Regions from separate parts of the Homo sapiens genome. Here all the other regions are linked to region 1. The links are contacts of gene promoters, found by promoter capture Hi-C in blood cells and fetal thymus (Javierre and others, 2016). All regions are on one chromosome and are shown on one strand. Each heading gives the region's core, a stretch centred on a gene start or on the middle of the fragment in contact. The rest is flanking DNA. Distances are from core to core; before and after follow the strand shown. Region 1 holds the start of RCAN2 (regulator of calcineurin 2). Region 2 has its middle 22 kb from the start of CLIC5. Region 3 overlaps RCAN2 (regulator of calcineurin 2).

Region 1 (4,765 bases), core at 894-3,393:
CTGATCTTATTTACCACCATCCTTAACATTAGCTACCCTTTAGCCTCACTCCTGCTCTCCAAAATCCTCTTCAAGCTCAGACCCCATCCCATAAACTCTTTTTCTCTCTGTATTTTCTTCTTGCCATTAACATTTGTTTTGCTAGTAACATTTTGTTCTTCTCAAGGTAAACAACATGAGGCTGTTTGTCACTTTTCATTTTTTTCCTCATTTATTATGCTTCCTTCTTCACACAAACTGACAAACACAGAATTTCTCTTAGCAGTAGAAGGAGGAATATGTGGCTATGAGAACTCAGAAACAGCATCTAGAAAAGTAACAATATCTATATTTGGTGTTAGGAAAATGGCTATGTTGATTTTGGTAACAGCTAACATATATTGAGTATCACTGTGTGCCAGGCACTGTGCTTAGGTGTTTTACATGTATTACCTCATTTAGTTCTCAGATTAAATCCTGTGTTTTTCCAACTTTTCAAAATTTCTGCAATGAATATATTGCTTCTATAAGCTGAAAATTTTATTTGTAAATGTATATTCACAAAATAATAAATAGTCCCTGTTAAGATGAAAGTCATCAGTTTGACGAAGATTCTAGGAAGTACTCACTAATAATAAGTGAGATTTTGTTTAAAGGGTTGGGGATGCTTTACTTGGAAAGAAAGGGGATCCTGGAGTGCATTAGACATGCTAGCTATTTTTACATATTTTAAAGATAGTTAGAAGAGGAATTTGACTTGGTTTCTTTGGCTTCAAAAAGTAAGGGAGAACTAATGATTAAAGGGAGGCAAGTTTTTGCTCAACTTAAGAATGCCCTTTCAGACAATTCTAACCCAAATGGCAATTATCTAAATCAACGACTAATTACAGATTTATGCATCCAGGGGAAGGCTGAACGAGGGGAAGCCTAAGGTCATTTTCAATTCTGAAATTGTGTTTATGTTAATGCAGATTAATCAGAGAGAAGAGCCAACGTCTCGTCTACCTTTTTTTGTTGAAAACAAACAAAACGTGATTGTATGTCAACTTTGGAAAAAAACAACGTAGTGTGGGTAAGTGAAGAATGATTGTGAATGGACTGCTTCAGTGCAATCGTAATATTGTTATCAGAAAATCAAAAGGCATAAAAAGCAAAAAGAAAACGGCTTATTTATGCAGCAATTCGAAAGATGACAGAACACAAACCTGATTTAAATGTTATTCACTCCCTCCCTCAGATTGGTCTGCACACCTCCTTCCTTTAATTTCCCGCACTCTCCTATGATCTTTTGCATAATTCACATTCTCTTGCCATGAGACTCAGTCCTGTTCCTATCTGTGCCACCCGTAAGCCACAGGCTTCCTTACCCATTTGAGTTGCTTTATTCCGTAAAGCAGAGACTTCTACTGGGGTTAACTTTGTTGAGCAACAGATCTACCCTAGATTGCGATTCACCTTCAGTCCCGTTTGCTGTAGGATACCAACCTCCCACTCACTGTGTCATGGCTCTCACACAATAGGATTCCTTGCAGCCCGAACCCTTCTGTCCTCAGGTCTGATGGCTGCAAATCCTGGCAAAGCTGTGAAGCCCGCGCAGGGCACCCTCAGCGGCCTGGGCTGGGCCGGGCGCAGGGCTCCAGCCAGAGGGCGCCAGCGCCCACCAAGCGCAGAAGCCCGGGAGGACCATCCAGGGGCTCCCCGACATTTCCTCAGTTAGCCAGAGTCGGGGGGCTCAGACATCTGGTAAGAAGAGTCTTTCTCCCAGTACTCCCCCACCACAGTTTGCTTCTCTGACCATTTCTTCTGGGCTGTCGCTGCCCCCTCACCCTCAGCTTAGTATGGGACCCCGAGGAGCCTCTTCCCGCTGAGGCCGGGACTCCTGCAGCCAGGCTCCCACGCCAGGTGCCCGGAGGCTCCTGCGCCCTCCCGGGCACCTGAAGTGGAAAGGAGGGGGTGCGGGGCTGAGGGCAGGGTGAGAGCCCCGGAGGTGCGGTGGGTAGGGGACTGGGGAGGGCGCCGGGTCAGGAGGGAGGAGATGAGAAGAGGCCAGACAGGGGCTTTCGGTTTCCCTGGGTCTGATTGGAGGTTGGCCCGATGAGTCGGAGCTGGGGACGCGCCCATCTCCGCCGGCTCCTGCGAGAGCCGCCGGCTCAGCCCCTCCCTGGAGCCGCTTTGTCCCGGGTGACGGCGGCGGAGGTTGCGGGGAGGAGCGGGCAGCAGGCAGAATCCCACTGACCCACGGCGGCAGAGAGAGGGAGGCGGGGCGCGCCGCGCCGCGTACGGCCCCACGCAAAGGCCCGCGGGCACCGCGCCGCCCCCACGCGCTCGCACCGGCGGGCAGGTGAGCAGGCAGCGCCGCGCGCTAGCAGCTGGCCCCCGTAGACGCCCCAGCCGCCGCCTCCGCCTCCGCCTCCGCCGGCGCATCGCGGACGCCCAGCAGGTCGGTTATGTAACCGCGCCGGCCAGGCTCGCCCAGGCACCCCGTCCCGCCGGGGCTGACAGCAGCCCCGGGGTCGTGCCGGGGGTCCGCGGCGGGGATCTGGTCTCCGGGCCGGGTCTGGGTGCAGGGCGGGGGCGGGGGCGGGGGCGGGGGCGGTGGCGGGGGTGGGGGCAGTGGCGGGGGTGGGGTTTGTCTCCAGATCTGTGGTCAGTCCCGGCTGCGGCCGTGGGGACGGAGATCTCCCGCGACCCCCCTCTAGGGGGCGCGGGTCCAAAGGAGCCCCTTCCCCACTGCCCGTGGCCCGGGGGTTTGCCTTCCTGGAAGCAGCAGCAGGTGCATAAGTGAAGGAGCGAGGATGACGCCTGTGATCCCCGGGACTGAGGCTTAGAGAGGGTCTAGAAGAGACTAACTGGATGCAGAGAGCAAAGAAGATCGAGAGATCCCTTCTTCCCAATGCAGAGGCTGGGGAGGGGGTAGGTGCACTGAGGTGCAGCGGGCTGAGAATTGTCCTGCTTGGGATTAGCGGCCTTGGGTCATCTAAAAATAACTTCAAGTTTGAAAAGTGAAATGGAGCGGAGCGCAGTGTGCCGGGTTCGTCCTGCCTGTGGGATGCTTCGCTCCAGAAGTCACCAGAGGGAACAGGCAAATCCCAGCCGCCTGATCCCTCGGCCGCCTCCAGGTCTCGCTGGTTTCCAGGGTGCCTCGGTTTGCCTTTTAGTTAATGATTTATTCTTCGAGGTACTTCTGCCTATTTCTTATCCCAAAATGAATTATAGCAGAATGCATGCTTTGAATCTTTCCTGTTTCTTACAATGGGATAGAGGTGTTCAACTGCCAAATGAAGTTTTTTTAAGTCTCAGTTTAGTAAAAACAAAAGTTTCTGGGGTTCCTTTAATATGCATTCCCACAGTTTTCCACAATTGGAGATGAAGGGATGTCACAGCATTCCAGCTCACACTTCTCTCTCCCTTCAGCCAGAATTTCACTCAACTTATCATGCAGAGGGGAGGCTTTAGGAAATGTAGGACAACTTTAACAGTGCAACTCAAGTTTCACACCTTTGTTATCCTTTATTACATCACTTCAAAACGAAGAACAAATGTACCACAAGGTACCACGCAACACTTGCTAACCGGCCTCTGCATTCTGGGGGCACAGTGAAGTTGGAAATACCCAAAAGCTGGAAAGGATCAAGAGGCAGGTCAGCATTGACTGTCAACTAGGCAGGAGAGTGAGCATTTGGCTGCTTTTCAGTGTAGTCATTGATTTTCTTTAGCCTTAGAGCTATTATATTAAGTATGATCAGCCATTGAGTTCAATTAGTCTAAAATGTGAGTTGCACTTTGCATTCAAATCCACTGCAAATCAAATCAGCATTTACTGAGCATCTACTACCTGAGTCCAGTCCATAGAATTTTGTGAGGGAAAAGTGTTCTCATCTAAAGCTACATGATTCTGAGAGCTCTCAAAATGCTTAGTGTGTGCAGGTCCTCCAGAACTCACCTAAATTTGGGAGGGCATGACTCTTTCTCCAGTGATGAACGTGTAACAGACAGAAGTGGGAACTCGAGAGCTTTCTCATTTGTAAGTGCACATCACGGTGTTAAAAACCACTTGTGTAATCATTTGCAGACAGTCATACATATCACAAATTCTTTTTATTGAGACTAACATTGACAATCACCGAGGTCTCATTTTCCTATTTTACGTTCTGTAGCATCCACTCGATCAATTCAATAATTATTTGTTGAGCACCTCCTGTGTGCTTTGTAGGTCCTGTGCCAGAGGCTAAAAGAATGAGGCCCATGCCTCCCAGAAATCAATTTAGCAGAAAAGGAGAAGAAAATAAATGGTAATGATTCAACATCATGAGTGTTTAATGAAGACAGAAACAAGTTTAATGGGAGCCAACAGAAGAAAGAGTGGAGGGAATCTGGAAGAGTTTAAAGAAGAGTTTACATTTGGTCTGGATCCCAATAGGTGGTAGGAGTTGTCTAGAGAAGGGGCTGGGTATTCCACACTGAAGGAACAGCATACACACATGGCAGAAAGGTCACATTCAGAGGACACCTACATGTTCTGAGGGAAGACAGGAATGTTTAGAAAGGTTTCACTGAAGCTGGATTGTGAATATACCCTGCTAAGGAGGAGAAACCATGTGGCCCTTAATGGTAGGAATGATTTCATCTAACTTACATTTTGCAAAAGTGACTGTGGAGGTGTGAGGAGGTGGGGTTGCAAAAAGGAATGAGGAGACTTTAGACCATTGGAGTGGCACAGACCAAAACAAAACAAAAACCAGAAAACTTATGAAATGTGCCTGAACCAGATGGCCTGGAGGAAAGA
Region 2 (4,765 bases), core at 1,182-3,681, 450 kb after region 1:
CTACTATCTGTACCACCACCAAGCCTCATCCACCATCATTCCCATCACCTCCACCAATGCCATCACCATGATCAGCTATTATCACCATTATTAACACTATGAGCAACAAATCAAATACTACCAATCGCGTTGTCTTCAACAACACCACCAACAAACAACAGTGTCATCACATGCTACCGTCACCATCATTTTCACCACCACCATTACCAGCACTAGTACCATCATCATTATCTTCCACCACCACTATTGCTGCCTACCATTAACGGAAACATTCAATATGTGCCAGATACTGTACTGAATGGTTTATTTACATTAATCATTTTATCCTCACACTAATCCTTTAAGTATAATAGCTGTATGCTACTGATTAGAAAATGGATGCTGAGAGGTTGGGACCCTGAATCAAAGACACAGCTAAAAAGTGGCAAGGCAGGATCCATATCTACATCTATCTGATTCCAAAGCTCATTGTCTGAATTGCCAGGGTTTACAGTTACTTAACTGATATGCTGTGGTGTTTTAAAGGTTTTTTGTTTACATCTCTTTAGTTGCTATTGAGACTGAACATTTTTCCATGTGCTGATTTATTGTCTGCATTTCCTTATGTGTATGCCCTCCATTTATTTCCTATGATCTCATTTTGAAGAAAAGCTGAATACTGACCTTAATTAGATGAATTCTCTGTTCATTTCTTAAGAGTAGAGCTTCCTTTTTAACATTTATAACTTACAATTTTTTAACTTCCTTACAATCCCTTTTGTTTTTTATTCCAACATATCTGTTTTATTTATAATTATATCTCAGCAAATCAGAAATGTTTTTTCTTCTTTAATTGAAAATAATATGCTTATTTTATTCGTTTTCTTTTTATGTTTATTTTATGCTTATGTTTATTTTGCTTTGACCAAAATTTATTATAATATATAATATGAGGAATGAATCTAATGCCGTCTCTGCACCATGACCTGATTGTCCTCTGTATTAAATACTGATCACTTCTTGCCTATGTATATCTGGTTTTTTTAATGTAATAAGTTCTTATTATGGTCTAAATTTACTTTGGAAATATCTATTGTCTCCACCCATCTTTTTCCTGCTTTTAACTGAATGTCATGATGTTTTGGTAATTGTCACATATTTTAAAATCCAGAAGGTAAATACCAATCCCTTTAGAAAAAATAAATTTAGTATATTTTCCCTCATGTTATTCTGGAAGAATCTTAAAATCAGTGTTTCAGATTTTATAGAATATACTATGGAGATTTTAATTATTATTGTAAGAACAGAGAGTTTTGTTATCTTCAGAATATTTGGCTTTCTATGCATGAATGAGTTATAATTCTTCATTTATAAATAGTATTCTTTTATTCCTATAAGATTGTATCCTTTTAAAATAAGTTTCTTATTGAGAGCTAAATTCTTATGTATGCATTTAATGATATTCTTATCTCCATAGTACATAGATGTTACATCATCATAAGTTATTCATCACCTTAATACCAGGATACAAGTAATTTTAGTGAATTTATCTTTTCCCAACTCATCTGCTTTTGCTCTAACTACAACATCTAGGAAGATAAATAGTTCAGATGCTGTAGCAATTTTCTCTGTTACTTGAAAACAATATCTAAATTAGTATAAACTAGGAAATCTTCTGAAAGCCATAATGTTTCAGAAAGGCATGTCCCCAGATGAACCAATCTGGGAAAGAGAGTGCTAGAGAGAATCTCCAGACACGTGGGTTTTCATTAATGTAGATTAAGTCTGGCTGAGCCCACTAGAACTGACTGAATTTTTCTAAAACTGTTGACATGAAGTAGGGTTTTTATGCCAGTAAACTTCCCTTTCTTAAGTTCTCTCCTTTTCTTTTTCACTCTCATTTCCATTGTTCATGGCTCTTACATGTTGACTTTAGCAGAGTAACAGTGAAGAATGGTGTAAGCTGGAAAATCATCCAAGAGAAGGGCCTCTGGGAAGTCAACCTAATGCAGGCCTGGGTTGTCCCCTTTCTCCCAAGGACAGAGCACAACTAAGGGGATCATGGGGCATGAGGACCCACCTGGGTGGGAAGCACCTCTCTGAAAGGCAGGGCCATTCAGTCTAAAGCCTAGATTTTGTAGTTAGAGTTCAAAATCCATTCATTTATACAACAAATATTATTCAGCCATGCAGTCTGCTAACTGACTGGACAAAACATCTATCTGTGCTTCATTTTTTTTTCATTTATGAAAGTGAAAGGAAAAAATGAAGGCATAGGATCAAGTGAGCTCCTGGGTCCCTTCTACTTGAGAATTAGTATATCTAATACTGAAGAATAGCTACCAGAGGGACTGGGCCAATGAGCTCTACCAGATAATAAGCCAGTATTAGTGAGTCCTATGAATACAAAAAGTCCCACTGAGGCCAATCCCAGGCTCTATCTGAAGGCCTAGGTCTCATCCTCTTTCCCTGAGGCTTATTGTCACTTGCCTAATCTTCTCAATGTAATTGTATTATCTTCCACCCACACAGCAAAATGTCTTTTGGTGAATCCCTACCTGTAACCAAATACCAATCCTTCCTGTGATTCTGTAGTTATTCAGCCCCCTTGTACCTTCAGTTAGCCCGCAATTACCACTTCCCTGGTGCACACCCAAGATAGGTAAGGAATGAATGAATATTCATCCTTGGGCAAATCATCTAACTTCTCCAATTCATGGTTTCCTTATCAATGAATAGTGCTACTGATACTTAATTGGAATTATTGTCCTCAGCATTAAATGACACCTGATTCAAAATAGGGTGCCCAACACATAAAAATTTTACCCATATTATCTTACTTCATACCCAAATAATTCTGTAAGATAATTAGGACAGGTGATATTGCCATCATCTTGGGGCAAAAGGAAATCAGGAAGTTTAAGTGACATGTATCAAGTTTCAAGGTAACTTGGTTCAGCAAACCAAGGAAGCTCTCTGACATTGGTGCCATTCTTTAGGTGATCCATTCACTTATTTATTTATTCATTCCTTTGTTCTTCCATTAATTTATTACTGAGCATAGTCTTTTGGCCCCCTCTCTCAGCCCTTTCCACCCAACAATACAACTGAAGCAATCTGCTCCTTCAAGCTGACTGAGCATGCCATTCAGTGGATAAATTGTGACCAAAAGATTGTAATTTTGATTTTGGAACCAAATCAAGGTTTGGACACAGATATACAAAAGAGCTCTTTAGCATGTTGTAAGTAAAGGGGGAAAAATGAATAATCATTCACCGGCCAGAATGACAGTGATGTCCTTCTTATGATGAAGGTCCTTGGATATGCATGAAGGAAGCAAAAGAAATGACACATGGCATCTGTATGAAAAATATGAAGACCTTTGGTTGAATATGGGTTGTTAAACTAAGGATGAAAAAAAAATGGGGGAAGGTATTTTTTTCTTGCTTGTTCTTCTGGAAGAATCTCAAAATTGGTGTTTCAACTTTTATAGACTATACTAAGGAGACTTTAATTATCTTATTTTAAATTTTTAAGTAAGGAGATAGAGAATTTGGAGTGCAGTGATTCTTAAGAACAAGACTTCCCTTATTATTTTTGAAACAAGCTATCACAATTCTTATACTACAAAACATATAAAGTATGGAAACTACAAACCCTTTGGAATCTACCAGCAAAACATTTGATACTATAAAATGCCACTGAATTCATTCAATAGGTATTCATTATTCCACAAATACTGAGCACATTTCCAGCACTATGTATACACTGTGAATAAATACAAATAACTGTAAGATGTGGTCCTATTCTCAAAGACTTTGCAGTCGGCCTGGCGCAGTGGCTCACGCCTGTAATCCCAGCACTTTGGGAGGCCGAGGCAGGCGGAACACGAGGTCAGGAGAAGGAGACCATTCTGGCTAACATGGTGAAACCCCGTCTCTACTGAAAATACAAAAAATTAGCTGGGCGTGGTGGCAGGCGCCTGTAGTCCCAGCTACTCGGGAGGCTGAGGCAGGAGAATGGTGTGAACCTGGGAGGCAGAGCTTGCAGTGAACCGAGACCGCGCCAACTGCACTCCAGCCTGGGCGGCAGAATGAGACTCCGTCTCAAAAAAAAAAAAAAAAAAAAAGACCTTGCAGTCTAGGTGGGGAGACAAGACAAGAATGAAAGGAAAACTAATAATAAAACACAATTTGGGATTAAACAAAAGGGGTAAAATAAATAAACTGCCAAATAATAAATAGTTGCCAAATGAAACAATAGGAGCGATCCTGAGTTTGAAAGATCGTTAAGAGAAGGCCTCCAAGCAAGGTGGGATTTGAGAATTTGAGCACAAGTAAGGTGCAGGGGAGGCCCTTTGGGTGGGGAGGAGTCATTAAAAACCAACTCTGGGCAGGGCATGCTTGCTCACGCCTGTAATCCCAGCACTTTGGGAGGCCGAGGCAGGCAGATCACAAGGTGAAGAGATTGAGACCATCCTGGCCAACATGGTGAAACCCCATCTCTACTAAAAATACAAAAAAATTAGCTGGGTGTGGTGGCACGCACCTGTAGTCCCAGCTACTTGGGAGGCTGAGGCAGGAGAATCAGTTGAACCTAGGAGGCAGAGGTTGCAGTGAGCTGAGATCGCACCACTGCACTCCAGCCTGGTGACAGAGGGAGAATCCATCTTAAAAAAAAAAAGAAAATAAAAGAAAAAAGAAAACCACCAGCTCTGGCTGCAACACAGCCCTGGGTCTGCTCAGTGTCCCAGTCAAACTATTGTCCTTTAGAGTAAGTTGAGCAA
Region 3 (4,765 bases), core at 586-3,085, 260 kb after region 1:
CAGCAGTCACAAAAGGTTAAGTCTTGACTTCAGTGGTTTGGAATATAACACATTGCTAGAGGAAATAACTAATGAATAATATCAAAGGTGATATAATTAAGCATTATAAATGGGTGTTTCTATCTCAAAAAAAAAAAAAGAAAATCAGAGATCTCATTAAAACGGCAACATAAGATTTTCTGTCTCATGGAAATAGAGGTATAGAAAAGGTTAGGAAAGAGGAAAAAAAGGAGAGAAAATTGCCAGTGATGACAGAGAAAGGGGAAGTGGTGGTTGGAGGAAAAAGGATAGGTTCATTTTGAAGACCAGATTATATGATACCCACTACCGTGGGATGCAGCCTGTTATCGTTCACCCCTTACTGCTCTTTGCAATGGTGTCTCCACTGAGGAAAAGCTCTTTGCAATTGTTCAGCTGCTTAATTCTTTGACTATTGTGTGATGTAATCAGATTAGTTAATCATACTGGAAACCAGAAATTACTTGGGGGCAACAGTGGCCAAAATAATATCGCCCTAAATAATCATAGCATGCATCTTGGGAGAGGGCTTTATCAAGTATTTGACACATATGTCTGTTTCCTAGTATCCCAGTGATATGAGTGTTGTTCTCATTGATGAGGAAAACTGAGATTCAGAAATGTTATATAACTTTCTCAGAGTCACATTACTCATATGTGATAAGGTGATCTCTCCAACTGTTGTCTTAGGTGGCTTATTCTGGCACGGAAGTTAGTTCCTGTCGTGGGGAAACCAGCAAAGAGTATTTTGGGTGGGAGGGTTAGTCATGGATAGGGTTATAACAAGGGGTGTGTAGGGAAGGAGCATGCAGAGAAGGTTTGACAAGCAATGTTCAATAGTGCTTGGTGACTGATTACAAATGATGAAAGAGAGAGAAAATTCAAGGATGACTGACTCTAAGGATTTGCACCTAGAAGGCTGGAAGAATGATGGCAATTCTAAGAAGCGTGATAGCTGGTAACGGAACCTAGATTGGCAGAGAAAATAATTCTACTTTAGACATGTGAGTTTGGAAAAGAGTAGTCAACTTGTAGAGAGACGTCAGTAAGTCAGGATGCATGTGTGAGATCAGGCCTGGATATGTAGCTCCTCATAGGGCAGGAACTGGGGCTCATGATGAGCAAGAGAAAGAATGTCCTGGAAAGAAGGGCAGCAGGTGCTGAGCAGAGCAAAGCTTGGCCTTGCCTGTTAGATGTGGCTGTATTTTCAAAGCCTCTAGTTCTGGGATTCTATCTATTGCTTGGCAGTACACATACAAAGACTTTGTCCAGCAGGCACTAAACTTATAGGAAGATTTCCCCTTCCTTCCATCATAGAGTTTTTCTTATTAGGAATCTAAATAATGAATCTCAAAAGCTTCTCTAATACATAGACATGTAGCTCTGTTTCATCTCTCTACCTTTACCTTGTCTGAATTTTGCTGATTTTTATAAACTTTGCATAATCATACTGATTATTTTAGAAAGAATTTAAGAGGTGGCCAAGTCATGGCCCGTAAGCCAAGGTGGCATGAGAGAGAAACTCAGTGGCACTTGGACTGCCAGCCACCAACACATTTCTCTGCAATTGTGGCAAGTGAGGTTGTACCATGTCACCAAGTTTCCCAGCCCCTAGTCAGCACAGGGACTCACCCTCCTCCCTCCTGAGAATGGGAAACAGCCCATGGGCACCCTCACTCCCTCCTCCAGTCATAGAGGAATTGGGACATTGTCACAAACCTGTCTCCAGCCACTTGGGAAAAGACGAGACAGAACTTTGGCATCTAATTTAAGCAATGGCCAAACCTCAGTCAGTTTCAAAGGCCTGAATGAGAATTTAACGTTAACCATGTGCTAAAAGGTTTTTCATTTAATTGGCTGAAAGTTTGTTTCATGGAATAGGTAGAAAACCCTGACCAATGCACTTGTTGGTGACTTTTGGTCCTGGCCTCCTTTCTGCACACAAAGGAGAGGACAGTTTCAATACTGGCAGAGGAGTGAGCATGTGATGGGTCAACCCTCTGCTTGTCTTTTCAGAGAAATGCTGGTTCCATTGGTCTGTTCTCACTGCACCATGGTGGGACCTCCCACCCTGTGTGGGTAAGATTTGACAGACTCTCTGTCCCCAGACAAGCCCAGTTGGTCCATGTGCCTGGTGACAGCATTGACGTCAGCCCTTGTGGTAGAGGAAATAGTTGAAGCCCAAAGGGAAAAAGAGGCCAAAAAAAGAAAAATTCAATCCAACAAGACCAAAGCTATTTCTTTTTATTTTGTGGTTCTCAGCAGCTGTTAAGCTTTGCTGGCTTTCGATAGTAAGAAAGTGTCCAAGAATAGAACAGTGCAATGTCAGAGTTAATGGGATCACAGCAATAAAATGTCTCTACTACTGAGCAATCTGATGGTATTAAGTTGATGTGGAAGTTGCTTTGCACCCTGCACACAGAGTGGACTCCCTGCTTGCCCTCCCATTCTGAGTGTTCCCCCAACACACCTATTCTGAGAGGAAAGCAACCACTTCTAAAGTGGTAAATGCATTGCAAAAGAAGTGTCTTCAGGCCGGGCACGGTGGCTCACGCCTGTAATCTCAGCACTTTGGGAGGCTGAGGCAGGTGGATTACCTGAGGTCAGGAGTTCAAGACCAGTCTGGCCAATATGGTGAAACCCCGTCTCTACTAAAAATACAAAAAATTAGCCGGGTGTGATCGTAGGTGCCTGTAATCCCAGCTACTCGAGAGGCTGAGGCAGGAGAATCGTTTGAACCCAGGAGGCAGAGGTTGCGGTGAGCCAAGATCGTGCCATTGCACTCTCCAGCCTGGGCAACAAGAGCAAAACACCATCTCAAGAAAAAAAAAAAAAAAAAAGAAGTGTTCTTCATCTCAGCCAGGGAAAAAAGGTTTAATCAAAGGCCTAGCTTTGTTAGGTGTATTTTATTACAATTTCTTTAAAATGGCCAGCTTCTTGCTAACAGATGGAAAAAGGGGAAGGGTGTCTGAGATCTCCGAATTCTCTGGCCTGAGCCTTGCCCTCATCTCAACCCCAGGTTCTGGGTCTCTGCTGCAGATTCCTTTCTATTCCTCATTTGAGGATGACAGAGGCCATCCCCCTTTCCTCAATGCACTCCCCATCCACAGAGCAATGAATGAAACTACAGTGGCCACCAGTGTTTCTTCAAAAGGGGCTTCCCCTGCAAATGTAAGAACTTAAAAAAAAATTCTATACATAAAAACAAGAATCACCACCATATTTGATGACTCAGCAAACATTTCTTTCTCTGTCTCTCTTTGGATGGTGTCTTTCATTCAGCATTGCAAGAAGTTCCTGAAGGAAAGACAAAATTTGAGAAACCCTGGATGCGGTTAACTCAATCATTGTTCACCGTGGAACTTTGAGTGACTTGATGTTCTCTCCTGAACAACAATGAGAACACCAAAGATGAACGGGAGCTGGTGGCTGGGAGCGCCAGAGAAGCCATCCAGGATTCCTTACCTCCTTTCCTTTATGCATTCTCAGCTTCCATCCCTCCATTATCCTCTACCTGCACTGTTACCATTTACCATTTTCCAGCAAAAAAATATGTAGAATGGAGGAAGGGAGGGGGCACATTGTGTGTGTGCCAGTATCCTCATGGGGCCACAGCCTCTTGCTGGGAGTTCCATGTAACCGTCACCACCCAAACACAGAAGCACTGAGAAGCACTTAGGGCTGATGGGTACACATGTAGATTCTACTAAATCGGAATTTGCAGGTTTGCTTCCCTATACTGGTAAACTCTTTTTTTTTTTTTTTTTTTTTGAGACAGTCTTGCTGTGTGGCCCAGGCTGGAGTGCAGTGGCATGACCTCAGCTCACTGCAACTACCACTTCCTGGGTTTAAGTGATTCTCATGCCTCAGCCTCCGCAGTAGCTGGGACTTCAGGCATGCACCACCATGCCCAGCTAATTTTTGTATTTTTAGTAGAGGTGGGGGTTTCCCCATGTTGACCAGGCTGGTCTTGAACTTCCAACCTCAAGTGACCTGCCCACCTCAGCCTCCCAAAGTGCTGGCATTACAGGCATGAGACACCACGCCCGACCTAAACTCTTTTTTTAATGAGCACTCCCAGTTAATTGTCAGTGTTTAAGAACCACTGCTTAGAGACACCCCCAACCAGAGCTGCCCACTCTGACCCAGAGCCTTTGATACAACCCTCAGATAAAGCTGGTTTGTTGTAGATTTCTCTCCTTAGCAATGTCTGCAGATTATCTGTTTACCCGGGGACATGGATTAAAATGCCAAAATATTTTAGAGAGAACAGAACCCACACAATTAAGTGAACCTTACTTAGCATCGATACATACAGCACTATACCGCATATGCGTAGTTTGCAACTTCCCCATGGATTACAGCGTGCTGGGTTAGTGCCAACTATCAATTCTTGCTCCGCAGGGCAGGATAGCAAAGTGATCAGGCAGTCATCTCCTTCCTGGGTCTCCCCTGTATCCCTGCTCCTGTCACTGTCTTCTTCTGTATCAGACTGGGCCACATCAGCTTGCTTGTATCAGAGATTCAATGCTTGTTGATGCAGTTCTCCCTGCCTATGATTTCACCACTTCTAGACTTTAAATACAGAGTCATATCAGCCATACTTCAATGGCTGTGGCTGGTTCTATTTCTCTGTACTATCAATATCCAGGGAAATGCTGGAGTTGTAACACTCTATTTCTGTGAAATATTTGCTGCCCTCACCCAGGAAAGCCTTTACTCTACACAGCAGGATGTCAAGGGCAAG

What was found. Contacts are between HindIII fragments. The CHiCAGO score rates a contact against its expected background, and 5 or more counts as called.
Region 2: a fragment that was not itself captured here is called in contact with the fragment with the promoter of RCAN2 in region 1 in 1 of 17 cell types (megakaryocytes); the score reaches 5.2 in megakaryocytes.
Region 3: a contact is called between a fragment that was not itself captured here and the fragment with the promoter of RCAN2 in region 1, in 2 of 17 cell types (total B cells and naive B cells). The highest score is 6.0, in total B cells.

Annotation. Positions count from the first base shown.
Region 1 is chr6:46,488,827-46,493,591 of GRCh38, reverse strand. RCAN2 (regulator of calcineurin 2) reads left to right here and starts at 2,143. Exons shown (of 5, transcript NM_001251974.2): 1 at 2,143-2,419. RCAN2-DT (RCAN2 divergent transcript) reads right to left here and starts at 1,540. Exons shown (of 3, transcript NR_125837.1): 1 at 1,465-1,540. RefSeq lists silencers at 1,521-1,580, 2,091-2,180. The HindIII fragment of the contact is 5,722 bases long and covers 1-4,765 here.
Region 2 is chr6:46,035,650-46,040,414 of GRCh38, reverse strand. It overlaps a transcript of CLIC5 not described here. Among named protein-coding and RNA genes, the nearest start is that of CLIC5, 22 kb to the right of the region's middle. The HindIII fragment of the contact is 6,541 bases long and covers 1-4,765 here.
Region 3 is chr6:46,231,815-46,236,579 of GRCh38, reverse strand. The region is part of intron 4 of RCAN2 (regulator of calcineurin 2); the gene reads left to right. All of the region lies in intron 1 of LOC105375079 (a long non-coding RNA gene), which reads right to left. Among named protein-coding and RNA genes, the nearest start is that of ENPP5, 63 kb to the right of the region's middle. The HindIII fragment of the contact is 916 bases long and covers 1,378-2,293 here.